Linked DNA regions of Homo sapiens: region 1 is linked to region 2. Evidence: promoter capture Hi-C in 16 types of primary human blood cells and fetal thymus (Javierre and others, 2016). All regions are on one chromosome and are shown on one strand. Each heading gives the region's core, a stretch centred on a gene start or on the middle of the fragment in contact. The rest is flanking DNA. Distances are from core to core; before and after follow the strand shown. Region 1 overlaps GUCA1ANB-GUCA1A (GUCA1ANB-GUCA1A readthrough). Region 2 holds the start of USP49 (ubiquitin specific peptidase 49).

Region 1 (6,763 bases), core at 2,148-4,647, 270 kb after region 2:
GTCCCTGGCTCCATGGTCAGCACAGCAGTGCTCCAGAGTGGCTCTGGGGGCTTCTGAGCAGTGGCTCTTTCTCCTCCCTTCTGCCCCTGGCATAGCAGTTGAAGTCCCAGTATCCAATGCCTCAGCTCTCCCCTTCTTTCCCCCCTCCCAGGACTCACAGAAACCCTCTGTACCCAGTCATGGGCCAAAGACACCGTCATGCAAGGGGGTGAAGGCTCCACACTCGTCCCGGCCCCGGGCGTGGAAGCAGGACCTCGAGCAGTCTCTGGCAGCAGCCTATGTGCCGGTCGTTGTGGACTCTAAGGGGCAGAATCCGGACAAGCTCAGGTTCAATTTCTACACCTCCCAGTACTCCAACTCCCTGAACCCCTTCTACACTTTGCAGAAGCCTACCTGTGGCTACCTGTACCGCCGGGACACTGACCACACCCGCAAGCGCTTTGATGTGCCTCCTGCCAACTTGGTCTTGTGGCGCTCCTAGGCCTGAGCCAAACGGAAGCCCCCGACCCTTCACCCTCACCCCTGTGACCTCAGGTCCCCAAGGGGAAGGGCTGCTCACTGCAGGAGGAGTGACCTATATTCGGGCTAAGACAGCTGTGCCATGCCCACCTATTGACAATGATAAAGGGAGGTCTCTCTTCTCAGCAGCAGTTAAAGTTTGTCCTTCCTTTCCCTGGCATCTGAATGGGTGGCTGTGGGTAGGTAAACAGGCCATGGGGATGTTATACAGTAAGGTTATGTCCAGAGGTTTCTGAAGACTTGGAAGGACTTGATTCTCAGTTCCCTAACCCCAAAAGTAACCTCAACCCTTCTCCAGAGCTGAGTCCCAAGCAAAGCCCATCCTAGCTCCAGCCTCCCGATGGTCCAGGCTCGGACCCCTCCAAGGAAGAGAGGGTGGGTGTGGTGGCTCACACCTGTAATCCCAGCACTTCAGGAGGCCAAGGTGGGCAGATCACCTGAGGTCAGGAGTTCAAGACCAGCCTGGCCAACATGGTGAAACCCCGTCTCTACAAAAATTAGCCAGGCATGATGGCAGGTGCCTATAATCCCAGCTACTCGGGAGACTAAGGAATGAGAATCCCTTGAAGCCAGGAGGCAGAGGTTGCAGTGAGCCGAAATCATGCCATTGCACTCCAGCCTGGGTGACAGAGTAAGACTCCGTCAAAAAAAAAAAATTAATTTAAAAAAAGGAAGAGATCCATCAACTGGCCATGACTCCTGCTCTCTTACAAGGTCATCTTACCCTGGTTGGAGCAGCTGCTGCAGAATGAGGAAGAATGCAGGGAATGAACACAGACTCTAGGTCCCCTCCCAGACCCAGTTTTACATAAAGCTGCTGCTTCTGACTTGTAGTTTGTTGGTGGGGGAAGGATTTCCCATCCTTGCCGTCTCCTCTGGTCTAGAAGAGCTGGCTCTGAGGCTAGTTGAGCTCATGGGTCATGGGGCATGGAAGAGGGGGATGGAGGCAGAGGGCACTGGATTCACAGCAGGGGCCTGAGTGAGTTCCCAGTCACTGCCATTCAGAGGGAACCCCAGTGGTGTGCTGGAGCCAGCTTGTACTGACTTGTAAGAGCTGGTTGTGCCCATGTCTTCCCTACTCCACAATCAGTGATTTCTTTTTTTTTTTTTTTTGAGACGGAGTCTCGCTCTGTCGCCCGGGCTGGAGTGCAGTGGCGTGATCTCAGCTCAGTGCAAGCTCCGCTTCCCGGGTTCACGCCATTCTCCTGCCTCAGCCTCCTGAGTAGCTGGGACTACAGGTGCCCGCCACCACACCCGGCTATTTTTTTTTTTTTTTTTTGTATATTTAGTAGAGATGGGGTTTCACCATGTTAGCCAGGATGGTCTTGATCTCCTGACCTTGTGATCTGCCCACCTCGGCCTCCCAAAGTGCTGGGATTACAGGTGTGAGCCACCGCACCCGGCCCACAATCAGTGACTTCCTGTTGGCAGTTTGGAATCAGCTGTGGTGGGAGCATTTACACCACAGAAGTGAGCAAATGCCTACAAATTGGAGTTTCTTTTTTCCAGAGAGCTCATCATTAAACATTTACCAGCACACCACAGGGTGAATTCAGCTGGTTTCATTCCTAGGAGTCTCGTCCCTCTGTAGGTATGGTGGTGTATTCTGTGGGGCATAATTCCTGTGCAGGAGAGGTTGGGGTTGGTGTGGGAAGGAGAGACAGGTGTCCAGAGACCCCGACAAGCAGCCCACAACAAGGCCAGGCTGTCCTGTGGGCCTTTCTTTGAGAAGATGGTAAGCAGTGTGGAGGGAAGTGGAGACCCCTCGAGGCGACCCTAACAGCATAGAATCCGCGTTTTCCTCTTGGCTTGCTGTAGGCTCTCTTTTGAGTTAGAGGTTTTCCTCAAATGCCTGATGAGCCTTGGCTGGCCTCAGACCATCTGGCATCTGTACCAGGTCTCTCCTTCTGCTTGGTCATCAGTGTTCAAGGAGCCAGCCACGGGAATGAGCTGGGGTGGGGGAAGGCGCATGGTGGTTTTCTCACTGTCCATATGTAGACTTTCTTTTAACGCTCCATTTATAGAATGGCACATGTCTCTTCCTGAGGCTGTGCCTAGAGACTAGCGGCTCTCTGGCCCAAATCTCCAGAAGAACCTTCAATCAGGGTCAGGAGGGGACTGATGCCGGGAGATGCCTGTTCTGCTGCCTTGCGGAGGGCATCGGAGAAGCTAAGTGTTCCTTATGCAAACTTTGGCCAGCCCTATTTTCTGCTCCACCTGTGCTGCATCCCAGCCTTCAGGGGCACCTGGTATCTCTGCCTCCCTATTCCTGCAGCAGGAATAGGTTTGTCCCGAGCTCCGCAGGCTCCTCCTCTTTGAAAGCATTTAGGTTTCGACTTTCTCCACTCTCATAAGAAAGACAGTTACCACTTGTCCATCTGTCTTGTTTTCCAAAATTTTATTAGAACCCCTGTATCTGCTGTCTTTTTTCCTCTTTTCTTTTCTTTCTTTCTTTTCTTTTTTCTTTTTTTGAGATAAGAGTTTCACTCTTGTTGCCCAGTCTGGAGTCCAATGGCGGGATCTCAGCTCACCACAACTTCCACCTCCCGGGTTCAAGCGATTCTCCTGCCTCAGCCTCCCGAGTAGCTGGGATTACAGGCATGGGCCGCCATGCCCTGCTAATTTTGTATTTTTAGTAGAGACGGGGTTTCTCCATGTTGGTCAGGCTGGTCTTGAACTCCTGACCTCAGGTGATCCACCTGCCTCGGCCTCCCAAAGTGCTGGGATTACAGGCGTGAGCCACTGTGCCCAGCCCCTTTTTCCTTTTTTGAGACGGAGTTTTGCTCTTGTTGCCCAGGCTGGAGTGCAATGGTGCAATCTTGGCTCACCATAACCTCCTCCTCCCAGGTTCAAGCGATTCTCCTGCCTCAGCCTCCCGGGTAGCTGGGATTACAGGAATGTACCACCATGCCCGGCTAATTTTTGTATTTTTAGTAGAGACGGGGTTTCTCCATGTTGGACAGGCTGGTCTTGAACTCCCGACCTCAGGTGATCCGCCCGCCTCGGCCTCACAAAGCGCTGGGATTACAGGCGTTAGCCACTGCGCCCGGCCTCCTTTTGTCTTTAAAACATGCATTTATTCATATTTTAGTGGGATTTTGAAAAGAAGCAGAGATAAGTGGAAGTTTTCAGTCTATGTATAACTAGAAGTCTTGCTCATTCAATCAGTCAGTCACCCAACAGACCCTGTGGGCTGTGTCCTTAAGATGCAAAGATATTAACAGGAACCGTCCCTTCCCTTCCAGATCCTATAGCCTGTGTAGGGTGAGGGGCAGGATCCCCATGAGGCGTCTTCACTCCCACAACAAACGCCTCCTCCCCTACCCTGGAGAATGGGCTCCCTCTTGAGGTTCACCTTGGTAATGCAGCCTCCATGGACGCCCTTAGAAACCCTTTAAAGAAACCGGCCAAGGTACCACCTTGTTTTGAGTGAGATAGGCCCAGGAGGCAACTGAACCTGTGCTCAGGGTCCTTCTGTGTTTCTGTGGAGTAGAGGGGCAAGCAGGCAGCCTTAGGGGGGGATTAGTCTGGCCTGGATCACTGCCCCTCCTGTCTCTTCCTGGTTTGTCTTCCTACCTCTCTGCAGCTGCCCCATCCTCCCTCCCCTCGGCCCCATTCCGCCAGGTGGAGCCTCTTCCTCTGATCTGGCTTCTGTCCCAGGAGGGATTCCTGCAGGCAGAGCAGCCAGGGAAGGCAGGAATCCTCCCTGTGTATGCTGTGTGACCTGTACTCTGGCCCTCTGTGCCCTAACGCATACCTTGTGCATACTGCTTCCTTGGGGCCTTGGTGTTGATCTCAGTCCTCCTTGCCTTGGCATCCCTGTCTCAGGGGATTCCATTCCCACCCTGGGCTGGAGACAAGGGGTGGGGGCCCTCCTCCCTCAAAGGGAGCAAGCTCTCTGTCAATGGAATTGTTGGGCAGAGGGCCACAAGGGGAGGACTGAGGGAGATGGCGCTGGAGTGAGGGGCTCGTGGGGTCCCCCTGGCTCTATCCAGCCCTTCTGCAGGGTGTGAAGGCTTAGGAGAAAAGCATGATGATGAGGTGGGAAAACTTTGGTACCACCACTAAAGTGCTCGTGAACCTGAGCAGGTGATTTAAATTTTCTGCCCCAAGCCCCTTTTGTCTCACATGGCAATAATAATACCCACCCCACAGGACTTGTGCACCTATTCAACAAGCATAGTTTCATCCAATTTTAGCTTTTTGAGAATTCTTTCTTTCTTTCTTTCTTTTTTTTTGAGACAGTCTCGCTCTGTCGCCCAGGCTGGAGTGCAGTGGTGCGATCTCGGCTCACTGCAAGCTCCGCCTCCTGGGTTCACGTCATCCTCCTGCCTCAGCCTCCTGAGTAGCTGGGACTACGCCGCCAAGCCTGGCTAACTTTTTTTTTTTTTTTTTTTTGTATTTTTAGTAGAGACGGGGTTTCACCATGTTAGCCAGGATGGTCTTGATCTCCTGACCTTGTGATCCACCCATCTCGTCCTCCCAAAGTGCTGGGATTACAGGCGTGAGCCACCATACCTGGCAAGAATTTTTTTTGATTTGGAGCTTCACTCTTGTCACCCAGGCTGGAGTGCAATGGCACGATCTCGTCTCACTGCAACCTCTGCTTCCCAGGTTCAAGTGATTCTCCTGCCTCAGCCTCCAGAGTAGCTGGGACCACAGGCGTGCACCACTATGCCCGGCTTATTTTTGTATTTTTAGTAGAGACAGGGTTTCACCATGTTGGCCAGGCTAGTCTCGAACTCCTGACCTCAGATGATCCACCCGCCTCCGCCTCCCAAAGTGCTGGGATTACAGGTGTGAGCCACCCTGCCCGGCCTAAGAATTCTTTTCTTTTCTCTTTTATTTTCTTTTCTTTGACGAAGTTTCGCTCTTGTTGCCCAGACTGGAGCACAATGGCGCGATCTCGGCTCACTGCAGCCTCCGACTCCCAGGTTCAAACGATTCTCCTGCCTCAGCCTCTGGAGTAGCTGGGATTACAGGCACCCGCCACCACACCCGGCTAATTTTTGTATATTTAGTAGAGACGGGGTTTCACCATGTTGACCAGGCTCGTCTTGAACCCCCGACCTCAGATGATCCACCCTCCTCAGCCTCCCAAAGTGCTGGGATTACAGGCGTGAGCCACCGCGCCCGGCCCCAAGAATTCTTTCTTTAATCATATGTGCATGCATGCATGCACTCAATATTTTACTGGGCTCAAGCCCGTCAGTCAAATATTACTCTCAAAACGGTAATTTAGGAGAGTTGATGTGGGGACTATTAACAGAGAGCTGGGCATAGTTAAGGGAATGGTGATGTACCCAGACAGTAGCGAGAGGGAAGCCCTTATCATGCCTGGCGGGGCAAAGGGAGGGAGCCATGATTACAGGAGCCCAGAGAGCTATGGCAGGAGCGGTGATTGAAGGTGGAAGGAAATAACCGCTGCCCCAACCCTGAGCTGGCAGGGAGGAGTGAGGACAACAAATGTCCCAGCTCTTCTCCCTCTCCACCCTCCAGTCTTCCTCCAGCTTCTCAGCAGATGAACCCAGCCTGAAACAAGAGGGCAGCAGAGTCTGGGTGATGCAGTCTGTAGGGTCAGTCTTTGGGGCTCAGAGCTGGAGGAGAAAGGGGGAGAATGAGTCGGGGCTGGGCAAACAGAACAACTAGCGCACGACAATGTGGAATGTGTGGTGCCAGGAGCTGGGGGCAGGCGAGACACAAATAACAGAATGGTCTCCACCCTCTGTGAGCTTGCTGGGTTCCTTAGAGCAGGCTGGCAAGAAGAGTTGCCTATATAATACTTCTGGAAAGAAATGAATGCTATGTCCGTGTTATTGTAGAAGAGTGAATGTCATAATAGACCCTAAGGTGACCCCAGTGATTTCTACCTCCTGTTGTTCCTACCTTTGTAAAATTCTCTCCCTTTGAGTGTGGGTGAGGCCCTTGACTTGATTCTAACCCATAGAATATGGCAAAGGTGATGGGACGTCTCTCTGTGGATTATGTTAGGTTATATAGACTTTAGCAGATTGCAGAGAGACTCTTCTCGCTGACTTGATGAAATAAGCAGCGTGGTGAGGAAGCTGGTGTAACAAGGAACAGAGGGCAGCCTCTATGACCTGAGTGTGTCCCCCAGGCAATGTCAAGTGAAAAGCCAGCTCCCTTGTCACATAGCCACAACAAAATGAGTTCTGCCAACAACCTGAATAAGTTGGAAGTGGATTCTTCCCCAGTTGAGCCTCCAGATGAAAATACAGCCCAG
Region 2 (6,966 bases), core at 2,146-4,645:
TTAAATTGGGTAGAACTGTACTTGATGAACAAATGAAAATAAAGCTTAAATTTATCATTGGAGTCCTTATTGATAAATAGTATTATCTCAATTTTTAAAAATCCATTTTCAGTTTTAGAAATAGCGACTGAGAAATAACCATTGACAATGAGACTCAGTGGTTTAGCACACTAAGGCCGTTGCATACAGAAACAAAAGGCAGGACTCACTCTTTCCCTTGGCTGATCTTACAGTTTATATTTCCTTCTTTACCAATATCAAATAAGTCTATAATCACTTATATAAAGATATTGAGCATTAAACAATTACAATTACATTATAAACATGGCAATACCATACAGAGTACGTCCTACTACTAACGCCAGCCCAAACACATCTATAAAAAGAATATGCACACACATCTCACTGAAACAAGTGCCTCATATCAAAGTTATTCTTCATCTTGAAAGTCAACATTATCAAACTAATCCTTTTAAAATGTAGTGGCAAAAATAGTAATTTTTACCAAGATCCTCTGTTAAATTGCTAAATACATCTAGTAACCTTGAACACTTGCTTAATACAATCCAGGAAACAAACCATAAACTAAATACTATGCCACTAACACAGTAGCTGAATGCAGAAAGAGTTTTCTAAATTATACATTAACCATTGTTGCTCAAATCCACAAATCAAAATCTAATCTTTGTTAACTACTACAAAAGTCATAAACCTAATCTTTGTTATTTATACAAACACCAGCAAAAGTGTCAATCCAAAATTTACCCAACTTTGAAAAAAAAAGTATCTTTGTGCATCTGAGTGTACACAATGAAATAACCCCAAAGAAGATTCTCAACAATTGTTTGAATTTTTCCCTAAGTAAATCATATGCTATCCTTTGGCACCATCAAATGCAAAACAAATATTCATTCATATTCTTAGCTAAATGTAAAAGCTTCTGAAAAAAATCATTAAAACAAAATTCTAAGTAAGAATAACCAAATTTTGCCCCAAATTTCTTATCTTCCTTTTCATTTCTAAAGGTGTCTTAAAAATCAAAAGCTTCTAGAAAATTAGTATTAATCTGGCCTTCTTTATTCATAACCATAAAACACGAAAGGCAGTGGAGCTGTCCAAAGACCAAGCTTGCTGCAGTATTATCTTACAGAGATGTTTTTCCATCAAAATTACTCATAAATTTATTTGCCCTAAAAAATAAGTCTGCTACTCTAAAATCCTCCACTACTCTACAATTCTCCCTTTCTTTATGCCATTTTGTTAAATGGGTGAGTTACCAACTACAGCATGAAACGTCCCGCACAAAGCTAAAGGCAGCTCAGGAACTCAAAGCCCTCAGCTCTGATTTAATCTCTCCCCCAGTAAACTTCCTTGGTTGGTTATCTGCCTTTCTCTGAAATGATTTCTTAACATTCTCCAGCAACTGAAAACAATAAGCAGAAATCTGGTTGATTAATCAAAAGAAACAGATTCTCATCTTTCTCTATCCCAACAACAGTGCGTTCTCCATTGAAAATGAAAATGCTGTCCATAAAACACAGCCCAGCACTTGTCAGGTGCAACACTCCTACAACACTAAAACTATCACATCACACGAGTACACCCTAAATAAGCACACCCTTTCCCCGAATTATCACAACACTAGTGAAATGCAGAGGTTTTCAACACCCAGAGTTTATACTTTATCATCCATACAAGAAAAAAATCAAATCAAAATGAGTCTCATTTCTTCAAAGTGGACAGGAAAGTCAAATCAAAAGCAATGAAGGGTGGAAGCAGATTCAAGATTTCTTGAGAGAAAGAGGTTTCTGGAATTTCCTACTTTTAGGGACAAAAGGATTCACAGTTTCAACACACAGTTCTCTCCTCAACAAAGAATTCCTTTCCTGCACCCCCCACCTCTGCCCTTACTTTTTAGTCTTTACCCCTGTCTCTAGGTCCCCTTTCACTCACCATGGTTCCTCGTCTTCTGCACCAAAGGCTCTCTTACACTTGATCTTTCACTACAGCATTTCTGCCCTGACCCTTGCAGACCTTCTGGAGCAACTCCCCATAACACGCACATTCGATTCCCACCCCCCTGCAGTCTACCCCAGTTCTACATCCATCAGGACTCCCCCAGCTTCTCTTAGCCCCCTCTCTTCCCTTACTCCCCATCTCATCCTTTAAATTCTGGGGCCCATCTCTTCCTGCTCCTCTCACCATTTGCTTTTAGCCCTGTCTCTTTACCTCACTGTTTTCACCTTGGATCTTGCTGAACCTCTTCAATTAACGTAATTACCCAGTTATCCTTGTCCCAGATGGCCATCACTTCTTACACCCTAACTCTAGTCTCCTTTCAGCTCTTCTGGTCCCAGAATCGTCCTACAGACACCCATCTCTTATCTGTTTCCTTTCGCCCTTCCACCACACTCTTATTCCTGACTCCACCTGGTTCCAGTCCAGGTCTCATTTGCCCTCCCTCACTTTACAGAATTTACATCCATCGCCCACCCACTAACCCATTCCTTTCTCAGAACCTCGCCAGCAGTTCCCACCACACCGTTGGTCCCAGTCCTTCAGCTCATCTCGCTCCGCACTAGTTCACACCCTCGTCACGTCTGGCTCTTAATCACTCTCTCTTTCCTACTCCCAACTATTACCCCAGCTCTGCCCCTCCTTGTCTTCCACTTCCAACACTTACCCCGGTACCCCTCACCCCAACACCACCCGCTACGAAGATTTCCCCTTCAAACCCCTGCTCTTACACCTAACCCCAGGATCCCTTTCCCCAGCCCTAACCTCATTCCCTGCCCGGCTTCCTTAACGCCCACCCTGGCTTTTGCCTCCTTCCTATCTCCTTGGCTGGCTTTTTCTCACTCCTCCTCTCCCTGGCTTCTAACCCTTTCTCCCCTTAATCCTCCTCATCTCATTCTCAACCCGGTTCCCCTCATCGCCTCCAAGCCTTCCTTTCCCTCTCCCTTCAACGCTTTTGCCCCAACCCAGCCGTCGCCCACCCCGCCAAAATAAGGCGCCCGCGCGCCCCGACTCCCGGCTCTCGCCTCCCGCCGCCCCCGCCCCGGGCGCCCCCAGCCCGCCGGCGCCGCGGTCCCGCCCCCTGCCGCCGCTCCTCCCGCCCGCGAGGCGCGCGCTGCCTTTGTCGCCCCTCACCCGGTGTGTGAGGATTTTGCTTCTTTAAAGGGGAGGGCTAGTGAGCCGGAGACTCCTATCCCCGCCTCCGAGTCTTAGAATGGGCTCCCTGGCCGTCGCGGCCTCCCCGGCCCCCGTTCCCCCTACCCCCTGGAGCTACCCACTTTGCTGCCTCCCCACCTCCTCCGTCCCCTCCCCCGGCCCCCTCTATTTACCGCCATCATCAGCACGCGCGAGCTGTCACCAGGGCGCGAGACAACCGAACACGGCCCCGCCCCCTGCCCGTCTATTGGCCCGCCCGCTGGAGCCCCGCCCCTCAGGCCCTGCATTGCGCCAACGGCGCAGCGCTGGGCCGCGACCCCGGCACCGGCACCCGTTCCGAGGGTTCGCGCCGCAGGCGCAAAGTTTAGGGTCAGCCACAAACGCGCGGCCGCTTTGAGCCTGGCGTAAGGGGCGGCGGCGTAGGGGGACGTTGTGAATAGCTGGTCGAAGTTTGGTTGAAGCACAGGAGGGTAAATAAGAAGGTTTCCAGACAAAGAGACTCTTAAAGGTACAGACTCTTATGTCTGTCCCTCCTCCTTAAAGGGCCAGAGACGCTCCCGAGCCCATCTCCGCCCCCTTCTTCCCGGGGAACTGTAAAGGTATTTTACATGAGTTTCCCATACTCTTTTCGGTTCACCTTTAACACCTCTCCCCACTGCGAAGGACAAAGGCTTTCTCACTATCCCGTCCGTATGTTTTGTTTTATTCTGTTAAAAGACGTTATTTCTGTGTTGTTCCTAAAGCAGCAGCCCTCAAACCGTGGGGTTTCCGGAGGCAGCGTTTGCAAAAGTTACTATTGGCTCCCAGGCGGGTGAGCACGTGTCTGGCTTTTGCCACAGATGACCCAAGAGAGATTCAGCTGTTTTATGGAAATCCCCCACAAGTTAGAGGATCGCTGCCGGAACTGAAGAAGTTCAGCAGATTGTAAGGCTTGGGAAATAAACCAGACTGACTTGGTAGTGGTCCATTGGGAAACAGAACAGCACCTAAGCTACAAAAGGCTTAGGTTAAGCAGTCTCCTAGGTGCACTGTCTTGAAACTACTTGCGGGGTGGTAGTGGGGGGAGGGGATGGGAGTCTCCCAAAATAAGATCAACAATTTCAACACCCAACACATAGCTAAGGCAGATAAAGACTTACATTTAAATATAAGGACAAGTAAAAGAAACAGACATTAGCTATAGTAGTGGCTCAAGTTACACACCTGTAAACAGGAGAACTAGGTAAGCACAAAAAAAAAAAAAAGAACACCACACACAATAGGAAGGGGGAAACTACAATGCCTGGACCAAGCGCTGTGTAGGCAATTTATTAACAACTTGCACTTTTAAAAGAGGTTTGATAGAAGGAGAGGAAGTGGAGTGTTTCAATTTGGTTTGGTCGGGATTTATCATGAGGTTCAAGGCCTCAGAGTTAGATTCAGAATTTAGCTCTCCCTTTGTCGTCCATCACAGTTAACATAATTCTTTTTAAGGAATTCTTAACATTATAACTCTAATTATATGTCTTATTCCCTTACTCAACAATCCCCAAGAAAATTCTTGGAGAAGAAAGATTGTTACTTATTCAATGTTAGTTCCATAACAAGGTGCTTTTGCTGAGTGAAGAATTTGGGAGCCACTTAAAACTTCCAATGGAAGGGATGCTCCCAGAATAGCAATACAGGAGGAAAAGTTTCTCAGTGATGTGAGCATGTATTAGATCAGTGTTCTCAAAAATGTGGCCTGGAGGCCGGGCACGGTGGCTCACGCCTGTAATCCCAGCACTTTGGGAGGCCAAGGCAGGTGGATCATGAGGTCAGGAGATCAAGACCAGCCTGGCCAACATGGTGAAACTCCGTCTCTACTAAAAATACAAAAATTATCCGGACGTGGTGGCGTGTGCCTGTAATCCCAGCTACTCAGGAGGCTGAGGCAGGAGAATTGCTTGAACCAGGGAGTTGGAGGTTGCAGTGAGCTGAGATCGTGCCACAGCACTCCAGCCTGGCAACGGAGTGAGACTCCATCTCAAAAAAAAAAAAAAAAAAAAAAAAGTGTCGCCTGGAAAGGCCTAGGGATCTCTGAGACCCTTTGGGCTGGGGGGATAGTGGGGTGCCTGAGATCAAAACGATTTTCCTAATAATACTGAGACATATCTGCATTGTCACTGTGATGATATTTGCACAATGATACAAAAGTAGCAATGGGTAAAACTGCTGCCTTAGCACAAATCAAGGCAACTGCACCAAGTTGTGCTAGAGGTCAAGGTATTCTTCACTGCTACAGTAAAAAAACACCTGTTTCAGGCCGGATGGGTGCAGTGGCTCACACCTGTAATCCCAACACTTTGGGAGGCCAAGGCAGGTGGATCACTTGAGGTCAGGAATTCGAGACCAGCCTGGCCAACATGGTGAAACCCCTCTCTCTACTAAAAATACAGAAATTAGCTGGGCGTGGTGGCACGCACCTGTAATCCCAGCTACTCGGGAAGCTGAGGCAGGAGAATCACTTGAACCTGGGAGGCAGAGGTTTCAGTGAGCCGAGATCGCACCACTGCACTCCAGCCTAGGCAACAGAGTGCGACACTGTCTCAAAAAAAAAAAAAAAAAAAACCACCTGTTTCATTTAAGAGGTCTTTGATGAAGACAATAAAAATTGTTTTATTTAAGTACACGTTTATGTGATTAAATGCATGTATGTATGCATCAAGCACTTTTAAGTACAACATTTGTCTTGAGGAAAAGCACTCTTGCAATTTGAGTTTGGAGCTGAATTAATAGCTTTCTTCATGGAACACCGTTTTTATTTGAAAGAACAGCTAACAGACTAGTTGTTCACTGGATATTTGGCAGACATGTTCTTAAAAATAAAGTAGAGCCTGATAGCATTGTCGGTTATGATAAAACTCAAGCCTTTATTTTTATTTTTGGAGACGGAGTCTCACTCTGTTACCCAGGCTGGAGTGGAGTGGCGTGATCTCAGCTCACTGCAACCTCTGCCTCCCAGGTTCAAGCAATTCTCCTGCCTCAGCCTCCTGAGTAGCTGGCACCACAGGCACACGCCACTAACGCCCAGCTAATTTTTTGTATTTTAGTAGAGACAGGGTTTCGCCATGTTGCCCAGGCTGGTCTTGAACTCCTGAGCTCAGGCAGTCTGCCCGCCTCAGCTTCCCAAAGTGCTAGGATTACAGGCGTGAGCCACCGCACCCGGCCTGATAAAACTCAAGCATTTAAGTCAAACAGAATTTCTAACAACTGACTTGTATCTCCCAATGTAAGTTTGATAGCTTCCCATGACTTTTTCTAATAAGACTGGTAGTGGGCCAGGCACGGTGGCTCATGCCTGTAATCCCAACACTTTGGGAGGTCAAGGTGGGCAAATCATTTCAGGCCAGGAGTTCGAGACCAGTCTGGCCAACATGGCGAAACCCCATCTCTACTAAAAATAAAAAAATTAGCTGGGCATGGTGGCGCATGCCTGTAATACCAGCTACTCAGGAGGCTGAGACACAAGAATTGCTTGAACCAGGGAGGCAGAGGTTGCAGTGAGCCGAGATCATGGCACTGCCCTCCAGCCTGGGCAACAGAGCAAGACTCTGTCTCACAAAACTAAAATAAGTCCGGGCACGGTGGCTCATGCCTGTAATCCTGGCACTTTGGGAGGCCGAGGTGAGCGGATTGCCTGAGCTCAGGAGTTCAAGACCAGCCTGCGCAACACAGTGAAACCCCATCTCTACTCAAAATACAAAAAAAATTAGCTGGGTATGGCGGCATGTGCCTTAGTCCCAGCTACCCGGGAGGCTGAGGCAGGAGAATTGC

The links. The method cuts DNA at HindIII sites, captures the fragments that hold promoters and counts their contacts. A CHiCAGO score of 5 or more calls a contact.
Region 1: a fragment that was not itself captured here is called in contact with the fragment with the promoter of USP49 in region 2 in 2 of 17 cell types (total CD8 T cells and total CD4 T cells); the score reaches 5.5 in total CD8 T cells.

What each region holds. Positions count from the first base shown.
Region 1 is chr6:42,162,769-42,169,531 of GRCh38, forward strand. The region is part of intron 1 of GUCA1ANB-GUCA1A (GUCA1ANB-GUCA1A readthrough); the gene reads left to right. CIMIP3 (ciliary microtubule inner protein 3) reads left to right here. Exons shown (of 2, transcript NM_001384994.1): 2 at 152-650. The coding sequence ends at 481. Among named protein-coding and RNA genes, the nearest start is that of GUCA1A, 7.2 kb to the right of the region's middle. RefSeq lists an enhancer at 2,971-3,938. The HindIII fragment of the contact is 8,730 bases long and covers 1-6,763 here.
Region 2 is chr6:41,891,980-41,898,945 of GRCh38, forward strand. USP49 (ubiquitin specific peptidase 49) reads right to left here and starts at 3,396. Exons shown (of 8, transcript NM_001286554.2): 1 at 3,345-3,396. RefSeq lists enhancers at 2,155-2,669, 3,604-3,793 and silencers at 3,234-3,473, 3,262-3,554. The HindIII fragment of the contact is 15,191 bases long and covers 1,126-6,966 here.